2 separate regions of the Homo sapiens genome follow, and region 1 is linked to region 2. Evidence: promoter capture Hi-C in 16 types of primary human blood cells and fetal thymus (Javierre and others, 2016). All regions are on one chromosome and are shown on one strand. Each heading gives the region's core, a stretch centred on a gene start or on the middle of the fragment in contact. The rest is flanking DNA. Distances are from core to core; before and after follow the strand shown.

The links. Contacts are between HindIII fragments. The CHiCAGO score rates a contact against its expected background, and 5 or more counts as called.
Region 1: a fragment that was not itself captured here is called in contact with the fragment with the promoter of LINC00158 in region 2 in 1 of 17 cell types (M0 macrophages); the score reaches 5.4 in M0 macrophages.

The regions. Positions count from the first base shown.
Region 1 is chr21:26,147,599-26,153,576 of GRCh38, forward strand. The region is part of intron 1 of APP (amyloid beta precursor protein); the gene reads right to left. It overlaps LOC124900466 (a long non-coding RNA gene), which reads right to left. Exons shown (of 2, transcript XR_007067829.1): 1 at 1,539-5,978. Among named protein-coding and RNA genes, the nearest start is that of APP, 20 kb to the right of the region's middle. RefSeq lists an enhancer at 1,338-1,907. The HindIII fragment of the contact is 1,522 bases long and covers 1,283-2,804 here.
Region 2 is chr21:25,427,344-25,433,558 of GRCh38, forward strand. LINC00158 (long intergenic non-protein coding RNA 158) reads right to left here and starts at 4,358. Exons shown (of 5, transcript NR_024027.2): 1 at 3,835-4,358; 2 at 2,423-2,666. The HindIII fragment of the contact is 1,417 bases long and covers 4,344-5,760 here.

The sequences.
Region 1 (5,978 bases), core at 794-3,293, 720 kb after region 2:
CTTAAAAGAAAAAAAAAATCTTTTAAATGGCTCAATCAATTTATTAGAAATAAGCGGCAAAGAGCATCTGTTCCCACAGAGCAACTGTTAAGTTAATCCCCATTAAGTCGGCCTCAAAGCACTTGGATGCAGCTACAGGATGTGGGTGTGATAGGATCACACAGGCGAACACCTGATAGGGCCTTACACACACCGGGCTAATCAGAACATCAAAAAAAAAACCTGAAGTCTCTTGGAAGGACTGAAAAATCCAATCCCTCCCCAACCCCCCCAAAAAAACCTCCCAAAACAGACTATTCCATTCAATTCAGATTTTGTGAATTAATGAAATTTAAGAGCCACCTGAAACCACCAAAGATACACAGTGATTTTCTCCCGAATCTAAGGTCCAAATGACACAGGTAGAAAAATGCACTGATAAAATGTTAACAAAAATGCATGTCTAATACTTAGAGCTACGTGTGAGCAGGTTTTAGGAGAAGGATATTGATTCTCCCTGAGGCATGAGCATTACCCACCATTTCAGGAAGCCTCTGCAAGTGGAGAAGCCACAAACCCCTTCAAAAAGATCTCTCAATTACCCACTTCCCAGTCCCCTCTGATATGTGGTAAACAATTATTTCAATGAGGTTGGCAGAGATTTTTCAAAGCTAGCAGGCAGGCATTTTGCAGCTACCTCCAGCTGGTCCAAGCAGCCAAGGCTGTCACCAGTGCCTGGTCACCGCTGAAAACACAAGGAGGGGCAGGACTAGGGCAGGAGAGTAGATGGAGAGAGCTGTGTCCCGAACCAACATTCTTGAGATTCCTTTGCTAGTGTTTTTTCTTCAGGGTTCACTGAGAAGAGGAAGGTCAGATGGGGAGGGACAAAACCCAAGGAAATGAGGCTCATTTCAAACTCTAACAACTTGATCACAAACAAAATGTATGTAGAATTACAAATAAGTTATTCTGTTTTCAGGCATCAAAAATGTTATCAATGAAATGTTGAGATGCTAAAGCAGTGAAATGTGAAACGAAGCAGTGTCACAGGCAACTGGGCCTCTCCCCTGGCCCATCCCAGGAGGGATGAAGGGTGGCTGATATGAACTCTAAGGATTATTCTGAAGGGGCCAACAAATGTTACAAAGAGGCTCAAAAATAAAAATCAGAACCATTTTTCCCTCATTCATCCAGGGCCTACTCCTGGCCATGTTCTGTGCTTTGCACTTTATTCAATTTAATTCAATTTTTCTCCTAAGCAATCTATTTAGATACTTTGTAGATGTGGAAATTGGTTTAGGGAAGCTTACATCATTTTCTTGCAGTCATATTTCTAGTAAATTGAAAGAGTTGTGACTCAGATCCAAGGTCTGAATGACTCCAACATCCACACTCAGAACTTCCTTCACTTGGGATTGAGAAAAAGGGAAATAATGGAATTGGGAGGGGGAGAGAAGACACCAAGTAGAGATATCAGCATTCAGAACTTCCTGCAGGAGAGGGTGAAAGAAGCTGGCAGCCAGGAACTGAGGGCCTTACTGATTACTTTAGTATCTTACCAATCAATTGCATTCCAAGGCTTGCTTACTTAGGAGGCTGACTGCTTAGTCCAAGAAGAAACACTGGCTGAACTCTTTGACTTATTTTGCTGGAGGCAGAGAAGATAAGTGGTTAAGAGTAAAGACAATGAAAACATAGTTTAAACCCAGTCCACTGGCCAGCTCCCTCCCAGCTGGGGATAACAGTAGGTACCTCACAGGCTGCTGAAAAGAAAAAATTAAGTGAAAGCACTTTTCAACAAGGCCTGGTTCATAGAATGAGCTACATACAGTACCTGGTAATTAGTATTACTATTGCCACAACCAAGGAGGCCTCTCAGCAAACTATTTTTACATATGCCAGAAATACAGTTATTTTTTCCAGACTAATAAATCACAAACAATATGGCACGGTTGACCGCCAGGTTACTGATGCAATTTCTTTTCACTGGAACCAAAAAACAAAACCACCACCAAATCTGAACTAAGTATAATACAATAATTCTCCCTGTCTTAAATTTTAAAATACAGAAGAAAAGATGAATTGCTGTATACTCTAAACGCTCTTTTAAATGTTTGGAGTACAGAATGTCTTTCATGAAATCATCTTGATTAAAATGTACATTCTTTTCCAAGAAGGGAGTAAACTGAGTATGGAAGACCCTCACCATTAGTTTTTATAAATGATTGATCAATGGGAATCGTCACTGAAAAATTGCATACAATTTTTGGAATGAATGCAAATTGATGGAATGTTTGTAAGCTCATGTGCTTCTTCCAACACCCCAGCATGCTCCCACCTCACAGCCTTTACACTGTATTGTTCTCTCCAGGTTTAATACTTGTAGAAAAGGGGAAAAAAACCTTTTTTCTCTACCCTGTTAGGTTCAGCACATGAGGCCTTGCCAATTAAACTGACGAGACAGATTCGCAGGGGAAAAAACACAAATTTTATTTAATGTTATTATTTTTACATGAGGGAGGGGAGAGGAGGGAGCTCCACAGAAAAGCAAAAACCCAAAAGAAGCAGTTAGGCCTGAGAGCATACACACCATTTTAACAAAGAGCAATAAACTGTGGAGAAGTCACAAGACAAAGGAGAGGGGATTAGGGCTTCCAGGGGAAGTGTGGTAAGGTAAATATATGGGGGAAACTAATAGAAGATAAGGGTTATTTCAATAAGGTTTGTTTCTGCAGGCGATGGTGCCACCTCTAGTGGTCTCTCCAGGGATGGAGAGGGGAAGGAGGATACCTTCACACAGCAAAATTTTTATAAAAAGGGGGTAAAGCTTGTCCTGGGTCTGCTATTTCTCGATTGTCTTCAGCTCAAATTAGTACTTTGCTGAAATGGCATATTTGGGGGTAGCATATTCTGATCCCCTTCATACCCTTCCAGACTGTGTCTCTATCCAGCTCCTCACTGGCTTAATTTTTCTTCATAGCACTGACCACCAAGTGGCACAGAGTATACTGATTGACATCTAGATAGACAGATAGATAGACAGATAGATAGACAGACAGACAGACAGATTGACTGATTTGCTCTCTGCCCCACCCAACAAAGTACAAGCTCTGTGAGATCAGGAAGCTGGCCTCTTTCATGGTTGTATCCCAATGCTTGGCATAGTGTTGGTGTTCAATTAATGCACCAAATAAATGAACGGATTTCCATATTATATCAATATTTTCTTACAATTAGAATTTCTGTGATGTTGATAGTGTAAGAATTTGTTTTTATTAGTTTTCAACAGTATCAACATTTACTCATTATGTAGTTACAGTATTGTATTTTTTTAAAGTAAACAATAAACAACACTGTCTTTGCTCCAAATACCTATAATGTGAAATATATAAAACTGGCCGACTGACCACAGAAACGGCAGTTAATAATCAAAATTACATGTGTCTGGCTGAATGGACTCCACGACCTTACACTAGGTTCTGTAACAGCAGCATTTCATCACAATTTGTTAAATTTGAAGATAAATACCGTCTCTTTTCTGGTCAAAGATTCTTATATCTTTGGAAACTTGACAGAATTAATGTTTTTGACTTGTTTTTCACCACATAACATCAGGAGAGACTTTAACAGCAGTGAAGTGGCAAGGAGGACGCTTTATTTATATCCGTGTAATCATGTAACCCACTTCATGCTCCCACTGAATGGCTCCAGTAAACTGAAATCACAATTTCACTAATATCTACATTCCAGCTCCAGCTACATTTGCCTGTCAAATGCAACAACTTACAGTTAAGCTTCTGCCTACACGAGCAATCACAGAACCATTAAATAAGAGGATTGCTTGTTTGAACTACTAGATCAGCCTTTCCTTATTTTTGCTAATCTGTGTGGTGTACGTTCATTACCTTTTTTTTTTATGTTAAAGACCACCATGCGTAACACTACTTGACAGCAGCAATTTATAGCAGTGGTCCCCAGCCTTTCTGGCACCAGGGAATGGTTTGATGAAAGACAATTTTGTGGTTTGGTTTCGGGATGAAACTGCTCCACCTCAGATCATCAGGCATTAGATTCTAATAAGGAGTGTGCAACGCAGCTCTCACTTTCTTACATGCGGTTCACAATAGGGTTTGCGCTCCTATGAGCATCTAATGCCCTGCTGATGTGACAAGAGGCAGGGCTCAGGCAGCAACACTCACTCACCCATTGCTCACCTACTGCTGTGCAGCAAAGCTCCTAACACGCCACAGACCGGTACCAGTCCATGGCCCAGGGGTTAGGGACTCCTGATTCACAGCATTACAATAAATAATAAATAATTAAAATATTACCTGATATTTGGCAAACAATCCCTCTCTAAGTCACTACTTCCAGCCTATGTTCAGGCTAGAAATGCCAAATAAAAAAGCACATGTCTGTCTGGGCACGGTGGCTCACGCCTGTAATCCCAGCACTTTGGGAGGCCGAGGCGGGGGGATCACGAGGTCAGGAGATCAAGACCATCCTGGCCAACATGGTGAAACCCTATCTCTACTAAAAATACAAAACAAAAACAAAATTAGCCGGGCGTGGTGGCGGGCGCCCGTAGTCCCAGCTACTCGGGAGGCTGAGGCGGGAGAATGGCGTGAACCCGGGAGGCGGAGCTTGCAGTGAGCCGAGATCGCGCCACTGCACTCCAGTCTGGGCGACAGAGCAAGACTCCATCTCAAAAAAAAAAAAAAAAAAAAAAATGGGCCAAGGATCTGAATAGACATTTCTAAAAAGCAAATGTACAAACAAACAAAACAAAACAAAACAAAAGCACAAGTCCACAACTACATAGCTCCAGTTTCCCTAAACAGATTTACCCATTCAGTAAACATTACATGTACAAAGAACTTAAAATAGTATGAGATTTAATGTTAAGAAATAAAATGTAGGATCTAAAACGTAATCTATAGCATAATCTCAAAAATGGTTTAGAAATGACATAATAATACAGACATTTGTGGGTGGTAGGATTATGCATATTTTTATATATTTTTAAATATATTTTTCAAAAGCTTCCTATAAAGAATGTAATTCTTTCCCAATTCCAAATCTAGCTTAAACATAATTTTACAAAAATTATTCTCTCAGAATGTAAACTAGTACCACCTCTATGGAAAACATTATGGAGATTTCCTAAAGAGTTAAAAGTAGATCTACCATTTGATCCAGCAATCTTAATACTGGGTATCTACCCGGAGGAAAAGAAGTCATTGTATGAAAAAGACACTTGTACACATATGTTTACAGGACCACAATTCACAAATGCAAAGATGCAGAACCAACCTAAGTGGCCACTGACTAATGAGAGGATAAAGAAGATGTGGCATATATATATCAGGGACTACTACTCAGCCATTACAAGGAACAAAATAATGTCTTTTGCAACAACTTGGATAGAGCTGGAGGCCATTATTCTAAGTAAAGTAATTCAGGAATTGGAAAACCAAAAACCGTATGTTCTCTCTTATAAGTGGGAACTAAGTTAGGAATAAGCAAAGGCACACAGAGGGACATATTGGACTTTAGAGACTCACGAGGAGGAGGGTAATAGGGGACTAGGGATTAAAAGAAAAACTAGACATTAGGTACAAGGTACCCTACTTAAGTGCACTAAAATCTCAGAATTCACCACTACGTAATTCAACTAAGTAACAAGAAACCACTTGTACCCCAAAAGCTACTGAAATAAAAATTATTCTCTCAAAAATTTTAAGCCCTAAACTTCAGTTCCTATTGTTTATATTTACTAAGAAAAACAACAGAAAACACTGTTTTAAAAATGGTGGATTTTTTTAAGGTTAAAGGTATATAAGACAGCTGCCTAAGGAAACGCAGATACCCCTGTACCTTGTTGTTGTTGTTGTTTTTCACTTTTTTAAAAAACATAGAGATGGGATCTCCTTATGCTGCCCAGGCTTGTCTCAAACTCCTGAGCTCAAGCAATCCTCTGACCTCAGACTCTCAAAGTT
Region 2 (6,215 bases), core at 3,108-5,607:
TTAGTATGTCTGTTTTATATGACCCTCAATATTTAATCATTTAAATCTCACTTCTAATTATGTCTATTAATATTATTAAACAAACTTTAGCCTGACAATAAATACAAATTCCCAAGTAAGTATTAGACCACTCTAGGGTATAATAGTATTTCTAATCTGATGTTTACCTATGTTTTGTTTTTCATCTACAACACTGACTTTTTTTTTAAGTGGACACAGTAGTTGATTGTGAAGTATTTGAATGTCACACAAGAAATATAAATGTGGGTGCTGACCTCAAAGCACACAGAAGCTAGGGATGATAGGGTTTTCACATAGTTTAAGGCAGATTCTAATCTGAATGGTACAGCCAAAAAATAATTTTTTTAAGGGTAGAAGTCTTTGTTGACTGAAAAATAGTTAAGCTCAAAAAAAGGGTGAAAGTCGACCTTATCTACTGAAGACAATGAGACAATGACAGGAATTCTAGGGGTCCCATATTTGCAGATACGGAGGTTGGGTACGAGTTAAAAGGTCACAACACAGATGTAGATGTGATGCTTTTCATCATCAAAAGCATGGTAAAAACTCTAAGTAGATAAAACTCTGTGAAGGGATTGGTGTAAAAAGGAGAAGAGAAAGCTAAGGACCAATCCTTGAGACACTCCAATGACTGTGATGTAGGAGGGAAAAGCGGGACCCGTGAAGAAAAGATTGAAGATGTTGTGGTGACACATAATAGAAGAGCAAGAAGTTTTTCAAAGACGAGGTTCTCAAGAAAATCACATGCAGCTGAATGACCCAAGAGGTGGAAGATTTTAAAAGGCCATTTATTTTCACTAGCAATATGTCACCAATGAGCCATTTCAGGAGTCTATGTTCCAGTAGGCTAAGATTCAATTTCAAAGTTTACAAATAAAATGAAATGAAAAAAATGAGAGTAAGCATAGACTACTCATTATAAGAGTTGATCATGAAAAGAAATAAATTTTAAGTTTATTAAATAGGTATCAATATCCAAAGAAAAACGTTGATTTCTTTAAGGCAAGTGATCCCTGGGCATGACTGGTAACAAGAAAGAATTTAAAAAGGAAAGACTGAGGACCCTAAGAAGAGTGGAGTGTGGCAAGGTGTGGGAGCAATGTCTGAAAAGCCACAATCAAGGATGTGTCCCAAAGCAGAGAAGAAAGGTTGACTTTTAAAATTAGAATAAAAGTAATACTGGTTAACATTTATTGAGCAGTGATTATTTGCACAGAACTGTTTAAATGCTGAATGTACATTATCTCCTTAACTACTTATGAAAACCTTACAAGGTAGATATCATCATTCCCACTTCCCCTACAAAGAAAGTGAAACCAAAATAAATTAATTCCCCATGATGTCCTAGAAAGTGTGAGGTGGTGTCCAAACACAGACCTATCTGACTCAAGCTCATGCACTGAAAATTTCTGTTTCTGATTCATTGCTCAGTGTCACAAGGTGTAAGAACACAATTCTAACTTTGTTTGAGTGGTAGAAGTTATGTTCTTAAAGCTAATATACTAACATATAATTTGAACACTCACAGCTTCTGAAACTGAAAATACACATTCTTCATCCAATGTTTGCTGTATAGTGTATGCTCAGAGGGGACTCTGAAAGTGGAAAGGGATAAATTCTTACTCCTAGGGCAATTCCTTCTAATGAGGAGAAATCCCTTGATTTCCTTGGGTGGGGTACACAAACAGAGAAAGATATTAAATAAGGCTTATTTTTATAATTTTATTTCAAGGAGAAAAAAAAATCTCTTCTACTATGCCACCTCTTTTGTGAATATTGGAGTGGTGTATAAACCCTGAACTTACGCCTCTCTCCTGAGCCAACTCTAACCACACTAAGCCCTATCACCATGAGGAGGTGATAGGGCTTTTTTAAATAACTTTTTGAGAAACAAAAGTTATTAAACTGAAGAGAAATGTTATCTCAATCATCATTCTGGTGCTAAATCCAAAAGATTCTTTTCAGACTTTTTCACTTCTCTGTAGAATATGAAGCTGCTCCTCATCCCTTCTAGTCGTTCTCACCTCCCTTTGTTTTATTGACTATAGTCATTTAATAAATCTACATGCTTTTCACATACTTTTCACAGGCTCCTCTCCTCTACCCACCCTCTAAATGTTGGAGCTTCTTTGCTCATCTTCTCCTTTCTGTTTCTTCACACTGTCCCTAAAAGGTCTCTTCCTCTCTACTGACTTGAACTACCACCTCTATGCTGATGAGTTCCAGAAGCATATCTTTAGCTTGGACCTCTCTGCAGAGCTCCAGATACATATGTACTATCCTAAACCTCCCTCTCTGGGTGTCCTGTAGAGGTACCCCATCATTTTCACAATAAACTGTTCCTCCTGTATAGCCATTCGTTTGATCAAACACTCAGTCGAGACAGAAAATTAGTTATTACCTTTGAGGGTGTTTTCTTCTTTATTCATCTCCTCTTCACATTCAATTCAACCAGTAAATTCAGTAAATTCTGTTCTAAGTATTCCTCAAATCTTCTCTTCCTCTTCATCCTAATGATCACTGTCTTATTTCAGGAGTCATCTTTTCTTGCATGGACCAGTTTTTAACAGAAAACTCTGGTGTCCCTGCCTCCAGTCTTGGTCACTTCCAAATCTGATCTGCACATGGCCTCCAAAGTGATATTTCTAAAATTCAGATTTAATCATATTACTCGTATTCATAAAATCATCAACATCTTCCCATTGATTTATAGAAAAATTCAATCTGTTAAGGGTGCTATAAATGATGCCATACAAGGCTCCTACCCTTTACTCTCATCCTCAATCACTCCCGTATTTTCACTCTAGGTCCCAACTTTACAAAAATGATGTGTTGTTTCCAGAATGTGCACACTCCCTGCCCAATGACTGAAATATGGCTGCCCTCCATCACTGTGGGTTGCCTGTTACTCCCCCACCACAATTACCTTCTCCAGAATGCCTTGTCTCATCCTGTCAACCCAGCTTATGTGCCTTCTCTATAGCCTCTTAGAGTCTATACTTTCTTTCATTGTAACCTGCTCGGTTTATTACTAACAGGTTTACCAGTATCATTAGAATCTCAGTCACTTAAAGGTAAATAATGGTATCTGGAAGCAGTAGAATATATTAATTAAGAGAAGCAGATTTGGAACAAAATAAACTTGGATTTGACTCCCGAAACATCCACTTACTTAATAATTGTTTATGTGCAGAGGGGGCCAGGTAGGTTCATGTCTCTGAACTCTAGCCTCTGTATCTATAAAATATACCCGATCATACCTTCTTCTGAGTGTTTTTTTTTTTTTAGGATTAAAATGAAATAGTACATAGTAAGACCTTGACATAGTACTTGAAGCATGTTAAAATGATATTGTCTTATCCCATTTTGCCCAACATGTAGCCACCTAGCTACTACATCGTAAGTATTTAGAAAGTACATACATTTGTTACCAGTGCCCCATGATAGCAGTGCCTGATGAAGTCATAATGCAATGGAGAGCAAATAGAACAAGTGGAGTCTTCTGAATCCTAATGCACTTTACTGATTCTAGAAAGAATAAATGAGAGGCTATGCAAAATCTCAAGCTCAGCTAAGGAATATATTTTGTTGAAGGTTTGTGCTTCCATTTTATGGTGATTGGAAAGGGACTGAGCTAGAAAGAAACTGAGCTAGAAAGGAGCTCAGTTCCTCTCCAATCATCACAAAAATTTACATTCCATAGTATGCAACATCTTGTCAGGAAAAACAAATATAATCCTTCACATGCAATCTTTGCTCACAATTATGAGATACTGTCTTTATGGGTCTAAATCAGAAATACTGTCTTCTTACAGACTCTTGATGTGATCTGTGCTCATCCTTAATCCTTGGTAAAGTTCCAAAATGGCTCTGGATCCTACTGACATCTGTTACTAAGGATAATGCATGAAGGAGATGAAGATATCTGTTCTCAATAAACAGAGAAAACATTACTAAAGAAAATGTAGATCAATTTCAGATCTCCTTATCCATAGATAAGGAAATGCAAGTTATTAGAGACCTATGAAAAATTGCTGTTCAGACATAAAGATGCATCTTTTTATTTCAGATCTTTACCACTTAAGTTTAGCCTAGTATTTTTTAAGGCCAATGAAACAGTTGGTGAAAAAGAATAAATGCATTTGTGATCTCCAGTGTGTTCTCTCCATTCTAGCAAAAAAAAAAAAATTCCAAAAACACTTGTTCATACAGCTACAAGTTTGAGGCTTTTCATAGGAAATAAGATTTGAGGTCTAGACTAATTGATTTTATAGCTTCACAACTGAATTTTGTAATGTAGCCACAGGTCCATACACAGCAGAAGCTTAGATTAATCCTTTCCAAAAATAAAAGGAAAAAATCCATGTGAATCACTTCTAAATGCCTCTGTATTGCAAATGAATGATGTTTGGGTGTGCATTTATACTACTTGTCTAAGATAAGACCTATTTAACAAGATATAGTTTATACCTCATTAAAGCAACATCTACTTCTCTTGCTTGGTTACTGGTCTTTCACAGCCAGTCCAATTGGCCAATATAAAATACACTTCCATTCTGAAACCTAAGTTCCACAAGAGAAAGAACATTTTTCTTTTTAAGTAGATGTATTTCATTATCTTTAAGAGTTTATATTATATACATGACATTACCCCCATTTAATTTTTGTGCTGGTCAGGGATTATTCAGTGATGAAAAAAGTTTTCCCAAATGAGGGCAAATAAAAACATTTTTGCTGGAAGACTATAAAGGACAACTTCATAGACATTCAAAAGTGAAAAATAAAATACACCCAGACCTCTTATAAATATATTGGGAACTGGAAAATCAGAAACTGAGATCATCTCTCTTAATTCACATGATTTCTCATCTCCTTCTCACTAGTACACTTTACCTCCTGATTTCTGGTCCAATCCATTGAACCCATTTTTTTCACTCAATGTGAGTAAATGTCATATAAAAGGTTGCAGGAAGATGCTGCTTCAGGCCATTTTCTCTAAAAGAGACTTGTAAGTACAGAGGTCATTGAAGTTTCATGAACTTCTTTATCCTTTTTGATCAAGTAGCAGATTACCTCTAACTAGTCCACAGCTTCCACATGGAAGATGGACAAACATATAGAAATGGGGAAGAAAGAAGAACCAACACACTTGTCAGCAAATTCAACCTAAGTCAGCCTCTTTTCAATGGGCTCATGGGAAATGAAGCATTTCCTGGGACACAGAGGAGGGAGAGAAAAATCTCCCATTATTGGGGATTGAACCATAAGAAAATGTTGTTTCATGGCCCCAAATGGCCAAATACCAACATATTATGTGATCCAACTAAATCACAATGGTATAATCAAACAAGTTATTCTGATTATTACCAATAGAGACACTAAAATTTTGGCTGTGTATTAAACCCTCTTGCTTTTCACATCTTCTCAATGTATTTATTTTATAGCACATCTGGAACAATCCTTTTATTTATTAATGAAGATCGTCTCAATTGCCAAAGTCTATATTTTTCTTCCACTTAATGAAAAATATCCAAAGTTGCTGGTTATGGGCCCATCAGAGATTATTTTCTCTTAATCATATTTCATTTAAAAAAAACTAGTCAGTTCATTTTTCTAAAAAAAAAATGCATGTTCAGAAAAAAATACAATCACTGAAAGCCCAAATTTCCAGTACAATTTAATAACAAAAAAGGACGGAGTGGAGTAGGATAGTCACATGGTTCCTGTTATCCACCCCCAAGCTTAAGAAACAGGGAGGTCTAAAATGTAGTGTGGAAGAGTAAAAACAGCATGACCTGCTTTCAGTTCCAAGTTCTTCCTTCTACTGATTGTGCAGTCTTGGGCATGCTGATGAATCAAATCAACCTCTCTGGCTGCACATGGAAATTGAGGAATGAAAATACTTCTGAGGTAGGGTTGATGTGAGCATTGGTTGAGACAATGCCTTCATTTGTTGAGTTTCTGTTATGTGCCAGCACTTTACTACAACAGAGATGCAATAGTGAAGGAAAAGAGAAACACAAGCCCTTTAAGACTTCTTGGCATTTCTGATCTGACAGGTGGACACAGACAATAATCAAAGGATTATATGAATAAATCCCAATTATGGTAAATTCTCTGAAAGAGAATAGTGTCCTGAGAATGAGGGGTGGGAGGGAGAGGGGCAAGTAAACAGAACAGATTGTATGGCCAGA